2 separate regions of the Homo sapiens genome follow, and region 1 is linked to region 2. Evidence: promoter capture Hi-C in 16 types of primary human blood cells and fetal thymus (Javierre and others, 2016). All regions are on one chromosome and are shown on one strand. Each heading gives the region's core, a stretch centred on a gene start or on the middle of the fragment in contact. The rest is flanking DNA. Distances are from core to core; before and after follow the strand shown.

The links. The method cuts DNA at HindIII sites, captures the fragments that hold promoters and counts their contacts. A CHiCAGO score of 5 or more calls a contact.
Region 1: a fragment that was not itself captured here is called in contact with the fragment with the promoter of AKIRIN2 in region 2 in 1 of 17 cell types (total B cells); the score reaches 8.0 in total B cells.

Annotation. Positions count from the first base shown.
Region 1 is chr6:88,766,826-88,773,089 of GRCh38, reverse strand. It overlaps RNGTT (RNA guanylyltransferase and 5'-phosphatase), which reads left to right. Exons shown (of 16, transcript NM_003800.5): 13 at 3,216-3,316. Among named protein-coding and RNA genes, the nearest start is that of RNGTT, 190 kb to the left of the region's middle. The HindIII fragment of the contact is 1,496 bases long and covers 2,946-4,441 here.
Region 2 is chr6:87,699,822-87,707,004 of GRCh38, reverse strand. AKIRIN2 (akirin 2) reads left to right here and starts at 4,772. Exons shown (of 5, transcript NM_018064.4): 1 at 4,772-5,555. The coding sequence starts at 5,321. RefSeq lists enhancers at 1,256-1,375, 4,201-4,510, 4,821-4,880 and silencers at 5,041-5,210, 5,391-5,600. The HindIII fragment of the contact is 11,354 bases long and covers 1-7,183 here.

The DNA of each region.
Region 1 (6,264 bases), core at 2,444-4,943, 1.1 Mb before region 2:
CTATCATTGTTGGACATTTGGGTTGGTTCCAAGTCTTTGCTATTGTGAATAATGCCGCAATAAACATACGTGTGCATGTGTCTTTATAGCAGCATGATTTATAGTCCTTTGGGTATATACCCAGTAATGGGATGGCTGGGTCAAATGGTATTTCTAGTTCTAGATCCCTGAAGAATCACCACACTGACTTCCACAATGGTTGAACTAGTTTACAGTCCCACCAACAGTGTAAAAGTGTTCCTATTTTTCCACATCCTCTCCAGCACCTGTTGTTTCCTGACTTTTTAATGATTGCCATTCTAACTGGTGTGAGATGATATCTCATTGTGGTTTTGATTTGCATTTCTCTGATGGCCAGTGATGGTGAGCATTTTTTCATGTGTTTTTTGGCTGCATAAATATCTTCTTTTGAGAAGTGTCTGTTCATGTCCTTCGGCCACTTTTTGATGGGGTCTTTTTTTTTCTTGTAAATTTGTTTGAGTTCATTGTAGATTCTGGATATTAGCCCTTTGTCAGATGAATAGGTTGCGAAAATTTTCTCCCATTTTGTAGGTTGCCTGTTCACTCTGATGGTAGTTTCTTTTGCTGTGCAGAAGCTCTTTAGTTTAATTAGATCCCATTTGTTTGACTCTTTAGGTCTGTTGAAATTTTACTTGAATTTGAAGAGCACATTTTCATTTCTGTGGAAAACGCTGTTGGAATTTTCTTAGAGATTGCACTGAATCTGTAGATTGTTCTGGGAGTATTGACATCTTAACACATTGAGTCTTCCTATCCATGAACATATGATGTCTTTCCATCTTTTTTTTTTTTTAAAGAAATCAGTGTTCAGTATACAGATGATTCACCTTGGTTAAATTAATTCCTACATATTTTGTTCCTCTAGATGCTATTGCACATTTTTTTTTTTTGAGACAGAGTTTCACTCTGTTGCTCAGGCTGGAGTGCAGTGGTATGATCATGGCTCACTATAGCCTTGACCTCCCAGGCTCAAGCAATCCTCCCACCTCAGTCTCCTAAGGAGCCGGGACTACAGGCATGTGCCACTATATTTGGCTAATTATTAAATTTTTTTGTAGAGATAAGGTCTTGCTTTCTTGCCCAGGCTGATCTCGAACTCCTGGGCTCAAGCTGTCCTCACACCTCTACCTCCCAAAGTGCTGGAATTACAGGCGTGAGCCACCGTGCCTAACCCTACTGTAAGTTTTTAAAAATGTCCTTTCCTTTTTTTTCTTTTGATTTTTATTGCTGGTGTATAGAAGCAAAACTGAATTTTTGCGTTGATAATTTCACCAAAAATAGTAAATTATTAGGAATACATTTAACAAAAGCCATGCAAGATCTCTATACTGAATACTACAGAACATTGTTAAGATTCATTTAAGGATGAGTAAATGGAGAGATTTACAGTGTTTATGAATCAGAAAATTCAATTTGGTTAAGATGTCATTTCTTCCCTAACCTATTGATTGATTCAGTGTAATCCTCATTAAAATCTCAGCAGGCTTATTTTTCATAGAAATTGGCAAGCTGATTTTAAAATGTATGTGGAAATGTAAATGCTACATTAGCTAAAAGTGTTTTGAAAAAGGAGAATAAAAGTCTGAGGACTTACACAGCCTGTTTTCAAAATGTATAAAGTTATAGTAATTGAGACTATTCTATTAGCAGGAAGAAAGACATATATGTTAATGCAACAGATTAGTGAGAAAAGAAATTGTGTGTGTGTGTGTGTGTGTATATATATATATATATATATATATATATATATATACACACACACACATACATACATACAGTCCTGTGCTTCATACCATAGAAATTAATAAGCTGAAGTAGTTTGTATACCTAAAAATAACAGCTGAAACCATAAAACTTGTCTAAGAAAACATAGTAGAAAATTGTAATGACTTTAGGAAAATATTCCTTAAATAGGTCACAAAAAGCACAAATTATATAATTTTTAAATGGATAATTTTGACATTACTAAAATAAAGAACTTTGGTCTTCAAAAGAAATTATTTAGAAAATGAAAAAGCCAAAGACTTGTAGAAAATATTTGTAATACATATATCCAACCAAGACTATTTATTTACAATATGTAAGTAACTTCTTACAAGGCAGTAATGAGTCAAACAGCTCAGTGCAAACAAGAGTAAAAGATTTGAACAGACACTTCACCAAAGAAGGTATACAGATAGCAATAAACAAAAGAAAAGATCTTCACCATCTTTGTGTCATTAGAGAAATGCCAATTAAAATGATGAGACACACACTTTAGAAAGGCTAAATTAAGAAGACTGACAATGCCTAGTCCAAGGCGGATATGGAGCAAATGGACTTCTCATTCATTTCTGGTAGGAATAGAAAATGTTACAGTTTGACAGTTCTTACAAAGCTAAACATGCATTTGCCATGTGATACAGTCATTCCACTCTCCTAGTTATTTACCCAAGAGTTAGGAAAACATGTCAATACAAATGTTCAGAGCAGCATCATTCATGATAGCCAAAAACTGGAAACAACCCAGATATCCATCACCTTGTAAATGTGTAAACAATTTGTGGTATATACATACAATGGAATCCTAGTCAGCAATGAAAAGGAACATACTACTAGTATATGCACCAGGATAGATTCATCTCAAAAATCTTACATAAAGTGTTTCTTTATTTTTTATTTTTAAAGTATTTCTTATGTAGCTAGAAAAGGTACAACTGTAGTCGTAGAAAGCAGATCACTGTTGCCAGAATGCTGACGGAGGGAATTGACTGCAAATGGTAGCAAGAAATTTTTTCACATCCTTGAAATGTTCAATATCATGATTTTGGTCATGGTTACGTAACTGTATATATTTGTCAAGATTTGTTGGTTAATTTTATTCATTATAAATTATCCCTCCATAAAGCTGAACAAGAAAAAAAAGCATTTTTAAAAATGAAGCTTCTTTTAAGTCATAGGAAGGTTGGATAGAATCACTGGTTTTATTCTTTTTCTGGACTTTCACAAACAAGGGTCTACATGTCTTTGGTAGGAAAAGAAGAAAGGTCATCAATAAGAAGGTAGATATCTAGCCTGACTTGTTGGTTGAAGATTAAAATTATGTTTAGAAAAGAAGTAATTTTGCTTAATAAAAAGTTACATTAGGTTTAATACATTGAATGTTTAATTTTTAACTTCTTAGTAACGATTGTCATCATTTTAATTGGCTTTAGAAATACAAACCTGGTCGATGTGATGATATTTTGAAATGGAAGCCTCCCAGTCTGAATTCTGTGGATTTTCGTCTAAAAATAACAAGAATGGGAGGAGAAGGGTAAGTATGCACTTTTGTACTTTTTGCATGAAATAATACTGTTTGTGTAAGGCTTCACCTTTTACAGGGTATTTCATATATACTTTACAATACTTTAAAGAAAGAAACTAAAATACTTTATTTTACAAGATATTTTACATATATACTTATACAACAATTTCGTTTTCAGAGATTACTCCTTTGACCTGTGTCAGCTAACATATAGCAGTTTCCTTTAAAGTTTACTGATCTTTGTTTTAAAATCATTTTCATTAATATAATTATATTAATAACAACAATATAAAAGGTAATAATAATATTAAAAAACGAATTTTGGCTGGGCGTGGTGGCTCATGCCTGTAATCCTAGCACTTTGGGAGGCCAAGATAGGCAGATTGCTTGAGCACAGGAGTTTGAGAGTAGCCTGGGCAACATGACGAAACCCCCCTCTACCAAAAATAGAAAAATTAGTTGGGCTTGTTGGCACATACCTGTGGTCCCAGCTACTCGGGAGGCTGAGGTGGGAGGATTGTTTGAGCCTGGGAGGCAGAGGTAGCAGTGAGCTGAGACTGCACCCTGCTGCACTCCAGCCTGGGTGACAGAGTGAGACCACTTCCCCCGCCGCACACCTCCCCCCAAAGAAAAGAACTTTGTTAAATTGTAAAGTGAAAATTTTACTAAATTTTGAGATTTTACTGAAAAATAATTCTCTTATATGAATTATAGATCTAGATATAAGATATGATCATTGGTATTATAATTAAGCATATCGAAATAAGTCTTTTTTACTTTGAAGGAAATTACTTCATGTTTGCATTTGCAGAGCAAATATTTTCTATACTTTTGTAGGGTAAGTTAACTGTTGACTTTCATTAAGATTTTTTATAATGTCTATTAAGTGTTAATTTTTAAATTTATTGGTTAATCTTCCTTTTATGACTTTTTGGTTGCTATCTTAGAATAAAAGATGCTTTAGCATGAATATTTTCAACATTTTTCCAAAGCCTTGTTTTTATTTCACTTTTGTTCTATAACTTTTTAAGTATCTTGGCTAAGTAAATACATTACAACAAAATAAGAAATCCTTAATCAAGGAAATCAGAAAGAGAAAGTAAATAAGATAATACTAGCAAAGAGATTAAAGCTTACCAGTGCATCCTGTGAAATTTTTACTTATCAAAGGTAAAGCACAGATAGCATTTTTGCTAGCTGATGGAACAGGGGATATATGGAGTCCAGACTCCAAAAGATTAAAATATATTAAGAAACTATGCATTATCAAAGAAAGGAAACTGTGCATTGTGGTGAATCTTAAGTGAAAAGGTGGGTTTAATAAAGCATGTGGGTATTCGTTTTCAAACAACAGGGTATTTAACATTTTATTTGAGGCTGGGTGCAGTGGCTCATGCCTGTAATTCCAGCACTTTGGGAGGCCAAGGTGGGAGGATCACTTGAGGCCAGGAATTTGAGACCAGTCTGGGCAAAATAAGGAGGCCCTGTTTCTAAAACAAACAAAAATTAGCCGGGTATGGTGGTGCATGCCTGTGGTTCCAGCTACTTGGGAGGCTGAGGTGGCAGGATTGCTTGAGCCCAGAGCAAGTCTCTGTCTCAAAAAAAAAAGAAAGAAAAAGAAACACACACACACACACACACACTATCCCTAAATGTTTGTGGCTTAATTTACAATTGGGACTTAATGGCAAAAAGTTGTTAGAACAATTATCTGGAACCCCCAAGAATATATTGAGCTCTATATGAGTCTGATTATAATCCAAGGATAGATAAATTTGAGGCTATAGGAATAGCTGGAATACACACACAGGAATGACTTTCAGGATAGTTTCAAAAATGTCTTTCTCTTATCTAAACATTGGATAAATATTGATATGTTGAACATTCAAGATTAGTCTTCCTGACAAAGTGCCCAGTGTACAGATTTTCTCAGTTGCCAGTCAAATGTGGGATTGTTTATCACTAATCATGCAAGTTGGGTGTAGGTTTGATATGTTCTTCTGGAAGTGCCTTACAGAAGACCATCTCACTATTAGAAAAATTGAGGCTAAGAAACTAATTCTAGTGGGGCTACGCTGTTTTTTTTTTTTTTTTTTTTTTTTTTGACACAAGTGAATATAGTTCTTCGAAAAATAAGACTTCAAAGATGAAGTAAAATTTTGTTAAACTGCTTCATTACTAAATCTTCTATTTTTCTTAATGCTATATTTGTATTTGGTTAAAGAGTATAGACTCTCGGATTGTTTCATTGGGTTTTTTAAAAACAACTTACTTTTGCCTTTTACAGTCAGTTCTTAGTGGCACTTAAAGGCTTCCTGAGGCTAAACATAGAATACTCATTTCTCTAGTAGTAAAAAATGTTATTTTTTCTTGCAGTTTCCTATTGTAATTAAACATAGCATGATGTAATTCAGTTTAGTAGTTTGTCATCCTAGTTTTGCCTTTATTCATAGTACGTTTTAAATATATTTTGTTCTTTTAAAATTTTACCTATTTAATGTCTTCTTCCTAAAAAATGGAATTACTTTTGAGTCTAGTGCATCTTTAAAACTCATCCAAATGTTTCTCTAAGGTGATTTTCAGATAGGAATATGCAATTTACATCAGTGTATGTACATTATTTGTGTAATGGGAGTCAATTTTCAAAAATAGAATATTTAATATGAAATATAACATGGTAACTATTACATAAAACATATTCGGTTAGCCAGAGTAATATGCTTTTTCTAAATGTAAAGAATGTTGTGCATTATAGCAGTCTTTACTGAATAAATGAGTTTATATCTAATGCTTAGCATTAACTCAGTATTTTAGAGAACACTGTAAGAAATATGTCTATACTAGTTCGAAAGGGGAGTAGCTATGTCTCTGAATCATTAAGCATGCACTAGTGAAGTGGGACTAAGCTGTTAAAACACCATGAGAGAAGCTCATATCTTTGATTGTACTTCCAAATA
Region 2 (7,183 bases), core at 3,523-6,022:
TGAGAAGTCAGCAAACACCTCCCCACACCTTATATATTTGCATTTATCTTTATTTGACATCAGAAAAAAATTGTTTGAAAATGATTTAATATAAGCAGACAATCTTCAGGCTCAGGATGATGAGGTCTTATGTTACCCAGCTATGTCTACTTTTATTGGCTTTAGTCAAAGAATGACTCATCAGAATCAGATCCTGGAGAATATTTTGGGAGGTGTTAGGAAAGTCTAATACCAAGCAAGACCAGTATCTTGGTAAAATAGTTTAATTTTCTTCAGAGGCTTCTGAGATTGTACAAATCAGAAAATACTTGCTAGGTCATGGTAAAACTATTCTAAATATGTTAAACCTTTAAAACTTGTTACAGGCTTTTTAGTTACAACAAGAGCAATTCTGGTCTGTGTAGGTCACTGGAGCCATTAGCTGTACAGTATATTTAGATTCATGTGACCTGATTCAACTTATTAATGTGTTAAATATAGTTTTCTTTTTCTTATTTTTTCTTTCCTTTTTTCTTTTTCTTTTTTTAAACATTTTTATTTTTTGTAGATATGGGGGTCTTGCTATGTTGCCCAGGCTGGTCTCGAACTCCTGACCTCCTCCCTGCCTTGGCCTCCCAAAGTGCTGGGACTACAGGCATGAGTCACTGCCCTCAGCTCTTTTTCCTCTTTAGTACTTCCTTCCCCCCGTCTCCCATCTTAAGGTCTGCTGTCTTTTTCTTCTTGATCAACAAAATAAATTCATTTTTCAAATATATTGTGGTGGCTTACACTTGTAATCCCAGCACTTTGGGAAGCCGAGGTGGGAGGATGGCTTCAGGCCTGGAGTTCAAGACCAACCTGGGCAATGTACTGAGACCCTGTCTCTACAAAAAATTTAAAAATTAGCTGGGTATGGTAGTGCAAGGTTGTAGTCCTAGCTACTTGGGAGGCTGAGGCAGGAGGATCACTTGAGTCCAGGAGGTCGAGGCAGCAGTGTGCCTTGATTGTGTCACTGCACCCCAGCCTGGGTGACAGACCAAGTCCCTGTCTCTAAAAAATAAAAGTAAAATATACTATGTCATGACTTACGGCTTTTAAGTATTATCTTTATTTTCAAGTTTAGCCTAATAAATACTTTTGTAGGTTTTTTTTTTTCAACAGCTTCCTTCTACTCTAAAAGGGTTGCTATAGTATTTTAGCAGATCTATAAAGGAACAAGGATAATGTGGGCTACTGGGGATAGTGTGATAAAAAATGTTTAAGAAATATTCAGTGGACATTTACTGAAGCGTGCAAGGTATTATACTATTGGTAAGGAGCTAACACAATGACAGGAGAGGCAGATTCATGAACAGAATTTTATTGCAGTGTGGTGAGGATAATGATGAAAATATGCAGATAGGTGTCTCTTTCTCTGTGAGGCTATAAAACTAACTTGGCTTTGAAACACTGCGGAGGGCTTCCTGGAGGAGTTAATGCCTGGCTTGAGTCTTAAAATATAAGTAGTCAGGCAAGAAGTGTGGAGCAGAGAGCCTAAGCAAAGACATAGGTGAATAGGGAAGGGTCTCCCTTGTCTTTTTAGTTTCTGAAGTAGCTTCCTGAGTCATTGGTAGAAGGGGAGGCACCCCAGCCCTGTCACTGTTTAATCTTGACAGCCTTTTGCAAATATACTGTGCAGCGGTGACCACACAGGCAACTATTATGACTAAACTATCAAGTTTACCAGATATCCCCCACCACCTTTAAGTACAACAACACTTTGCTGACTGGGTGCAGTGGCTCGGCCTGTAATGCTAGTCTGTAATGCTAGCCTGTAATGCTAGTGGGAGGATCACTTGAGGCCAGGAGTTTGAGACCATCCTCGGCAACTTAGACCTCTGTCTCCACAATTAAACAAAAAAATACTTTCCTCATTTTCTAGGCATTCTGGTATATTTCAAATGATAGCCTGATAACCACAATCCTCTCTGTATTAGTTTCTTACAGTTGCCATAACAAAGTACCACAAACTGGATGGCTTAACCTACAGAAATTTATTGTCTCATGGTCTAGAGAATACAACTCTGAGAAGGTGTTTTCAGGGTTGGTTCCTTCTGAGGACTGAGGGAGAACAACTTCTCTCCTAGCTTCTGGTGTTTTGCTGGCAATCTTTGGCATTCCTTGGCTTGTAGAAGCATCACCCTAATCTCTATTTTCATGTTCATGTTCATGTGGGTCAAAATTCCCTTGGGCCCATGCCTGGGTTCAAATTCCCACCCCCACCCAGTCTCCCCTTCACCCTGGCCTTTTTTTCTTTTCTTTTTTTTTTTTTTTTTTTTGAGACAGGGTCTGGCTATGACACCCTGGCCGGAGTGTGGTGGTGTGATTACAGCTTACTGCAGCCTCAACCTTCTGGGCTCATGCAATCCTCTCACCTCAGCTGCCCCGAGTAGCTGGGACCACAGGTGACCACCACCATGCCTAGTTAATTTTTTAAAAATTTTTGTAGAGATGAGGTTTCTTATCATTGCCCAGGCTAGCCTCAAACTCCTGGCCTCAAGTGATCCTCCCACCTCGGCCTTCCAAAGTGCTGGGATTACAGGTGTGAGCCACCGCACCTGGCCCAAATTTCCTTTTTTGTATAAGAATACCAGTCATATTGGATTAGGGGCCCATCCTACTACATTTAGCTAATTACATTTGAAATAATCCTATTCCTAAGTAAAGTCATATTCTAAGGTACTGGAGGTTAGGACTTCATATGAATTTTGAAGTCCTTGAATTCCCTCAAACATAGGGAATTTAACTCACAACATCACATTTCAAATGTAGGTTTTATAACTTATGGGCAAATCTTAATTTCAGAAAATATTACCAAGTGTTTAGAATTTACTAGAAATTTACCTAGTAGGTGTCTTAGTTAAGCTGCTGTTTCATTAAATGCTTATCTTTTTCAAAAGATTTTCCAAATGTAGGAAATGTAGGATATTTCCAAATATCCTAAATTAAAACTAGAAGGGCTTACTTGTTGACACAGTGTGATCAGGACTGCTGATCTCTGAAGCACTGGACAATTCTATAAAATTGTCTATAAAAAAGAATATATTGAACTACTTCTAAATATGGTTTAAAAATAATAGACAAAATGGCTATAAAACATCTGTTACTGAATAAAGAAGAATACATGAGCACTGGAAATCAGTATTTATAATCATTTGACAGTTGGCATTCACAAAATTGTTTCATATTGCACTGGTGATAGTTTCTACATATATCACTTTTTTTTTTTTTTTTTTTTTTTGAGACGAAGTCTAGCTCTGTCACCCAGGCTGGAGTGCAGTAGCTTGATCTTGGCTCACTGCAACCTCCGCCTCCCGGGTTCAAGCGATTCTTCTGCCTCAGCCTCCTGAGTAGCTGGGACTATAGGTGTGCGCCACCACGCCCGGCTAATTTTTTTTATTTTTAGTAGAGACAGGGTATCACCATGTTGAACAGGCTGGTCTCGAACTCCTGACCTCGTGATCCGCCTGCCTCGGCCTCCCAGTGCTGGGATTACAGGCGTTAGCCACCGCGCCCGGCATCATTTTCTTTTCTTTTCATTTTTTTCAGACAGAGACTCGCTCTATCACCCAGGCTGGAGTGCAGTGGCAACATCTCGGCTCACTGCAACCTTCGCCTCCCGGGTTCAAATGATTCTCCTGTCTTAGCCTCCCGAGTAGCTGCGACTACAGGCGCGCGCCACCACGCTCGGCTAATTTTGTATTTTTAGTAGAGACGGGGTTTCACCATTTTGACCAGGCTGGTCTCGAACTCCTGACCTCAGGAAGATCCGCCTGCCTCGGCCTCCCAAAGTGCTGGGATAACAGGCGTGAGTCACCATGCCCGGCTACACAGATCACTTTCTAAATTAGCGCTGTATTTGATTCTTATTTTAGGTATGTGACTAAAAGTACAACTTCTAGAAACACTTTTTTCCCCTTCCGCTTACAAAATGGATCCATCCAATATCTATTACCTAAACATTTCACTGTCTTTTGATTAGTTTTGTAACAAAGTTCACAATATATGCACCAATATTCAACAGAAGTAATGCAATGTCTGATACCACTTGCTTTTTACCCAACGCAAAACAATTTGATTCTGTAAGTCGTTCAAGTCCTATTCATTTACAGAAGCAAAGCTGGCTTTACAGAATTTCATTAGTGGATGAAGCAGCTACCTCCGAAGGGTAGAGCATCGAGTTGAATCAAGGATCCTGTAACCTGATACTATTACTGTTGTTCTGTCTGCCAGTCCTAAATAGGTTTCATAATCTCATTATCTCCTATCCTCTCCATGTGAAAGGTCTTGTTTTGGGTACTGTCGCTACCGAAATTAAGCTAACTTTGACTAGAGATTGGTTTATTATATTTCCCAGATCTGAAATCACTGTGGGAGCAACTATACGGAGAATCTTAAAAGATTTCTATGTCGCTTAGCCTGCTTTTGCCACGGGTTCGCTTTCCCATCTCCCACTGTCTCAGAACCTTCTCTTTTTTTCTCTTTTGCTTAGTTCCTCTTACACTCAAGCTGTGTAGGGGGATTTAAATTCCAACCCGGAACTCGGAATCGCGCGCCTTGCATGACGGAAGTCGTAGTTTCTGTGACTCCTCCCTTCCCGCCTTTCAAGCCGATTCCTCCCGGTACCTAAAAACTACAACTCCCAAAATGCATCCCCGGTTTGGCCCGCCCCCGTGCGCAAGCGCTCTGAGGCCGCCGGATTTGAATCGGCGGCGTTGTTATTGACGCCATATTGGGGCCGGCGGCGGGTGGGAGAGTTCTACGAGGGAGGGGAAGCGGTTGGACGTGTTCGCTTGGGTTCCTGCTGCGGCAGCTACCTCGCAATCTCTCTGCATCGATCGCCGCTCGCAAGCTACTGACCGTACTCGGGCGTATTAGGAGCCGCGTTCCAGCCTCACACCCCACGGTGCTGTTTTCGACTTCAGAAAGGATCTAGTCTCAGCACAGAAGCGCCTCAGGCGCGGCGCAAAGCTCGAGCGGACGGCGGGGGCGGCCGGAGCCTCTCTCGGGGGAGCCGCGCCTGAGGAGGCGGAAGAACCCCCCTGACGCGACTGGCGTGTGCTTCTGCCCGCCACCGCCCCTCCCGCTCTCACCCGGGCCGTCCCTGGCCACTGCCCCTGCCGCGGAGGCAGCGGCGGCAGCGGCTCTCCTTTCCACAGCCGGCGCTCCGCGACCCGCTTGGCTCCTGAGCCCGTCGGGTAGGCTCTCCTCGAGTTCCCGCTCTTCACCCCTTCCCTCACCCTCTTCTTTCGTCACCCGTCCCCGACCCCACCCGAGCCCGGCGCCTCAGCTGCCCCCGGCCATGGCGTGCGGAGCCACTCTGAAAAGGACTCTGGATTTCGACCCGCTGTTGAGCCCGGCGTCCCCGAAGCGCAGGCGATGTGCGCCATTGTCGGCGCCCACCTCGGCCGCTGCCTCCCCGTTGTCGGCGGCCGCGGCCACCGCCGCCTCCTTCTCCGCTGCGGCCGCCTCGCCGCAGAAGTATCTCCGAATGGAGCCATCCCCCTTCGGCGACGTCTCCTCCCGCCTCACCACAGGTGGGACCCGGCCCCGCGGCCGCCGGGGTAGTGGAGAGAACTGGGAACAGGGGTCCTGGGGTGTGGGATGCGGCCCCTGGGGTGGGGGTGCCGGACTGTGTGGTTCTTGTTCTTAGCAAAGTAGTAGGGCAGCCACGTTTTTCACTAGGTCCTCGTAGCCCGAGGACCTAATAAGACACAATAGAAATGGGCTGATGTCAAGGGGATAGTGTTTGGAGGTGGGTAGGGGCTTTGCCTTGCCCGTATTGGGTAGAACAGGGACATCTTTTTCTTTGGGCCGAATGATTGGAATTGTTTCCGTAGTCGCTGGAGCCCCAGCGGAAATGATCAGAGAGGACGATATTATTCGTAAATTTAGGCGAAAGGGTCACATTTCACCCCAATCTGGATGTGTGCTTGCCGTAATCGATTGGTTGCAGCTATTAACTCTGGGACTGGGTGGTTTGAGGCGAGGCTACAGCCCCTCCTTCAGTTCAGACACGGCTGATTTTAGTATAGTGGGGGTGGGGGGTGGGGGATGGATGTCACTAGGGCGAGATCTAGGCCTGTCATTAATCACCCACAAGAACGCCACTTTGGCTGAGTCAAGACCTGTTTCCCTAGCAGGGTCAACAACAAAGAAAATGCTCTTCCCGAGTACTGTAATATGATCACACTATAAGTCTAGACCTTGAGAAATGTTGAACTTTTAATAAGCATATTGCATTGAAAATTGGGGCTGAGGAGTTGCTTTTATTTGGAAATGTTTTATTTTTGCCCAACAAAGTATGCTGGGGGAAAACAACCTAGCCTTGAGAATAATGAAGAAATCAACCCAAGATTCCAAGGGACTTCAGACTTTTGCTTTTCATCTTGAAACATTTCCTGAGAGAGACTGGGGAATGTCTTTTGGCTGCTTTGTAGGGCATGTGTATGCCCAGTTTTTTCTGTACTTTGAAATCCTTGTGTGCCCCTGGCACAATCCTAGGATAGGCTTTTGTGGACTAGAAGTGTAAATGTTTCCTTTGTGTGTAGCATGCAAAGATTTCTGTGTGAGCCTTTAGTAATAATATCACCCTTTAGACAAAGCCTTTCCATAGCTTGATTTAAATGTCTCGTTATCAGTAGCTTAAAAAACCGAAGTATATACCTCTGTATTTGGTGACTTCCATTTGAAACTGACTTTAGTGTTTTTTTTTTTTTGTCACATTTAAAAATATTTTCTAAATCCATGGAGTGACCCTCGAATATGCAAGCTACCATTTTTGCTATTAAATATTTGGTCTAATTTAAGGACATACTGTTTTAGAGTTGTAGTGAGTTTTTACGGAAATTCTTAGATAAATTTATTTAATGACCTTACTAAACTGTGTTTTAATTAGATTGAAAAGGCATTTGTTGATTAATTGTTAGGCTTTACTTTGGGAAAAAAAAAAGGAAACAGCCAATGTCAAGAATGAGCTACTGGTGGTTGACATTTTTGGAATTTGTCTTTTAGTGAAATGGTATCATTGGAAATTGAAATGGATTCTGTACTTAACTAATAAAGCCATTTCAAAATAAGGTCATTAAGGAGCTAACCAGCAATACATTTCAGTCGAGGGAGTGAATTAATACAGTGCTAGGTTTGGGAATTAAAGTACTATATC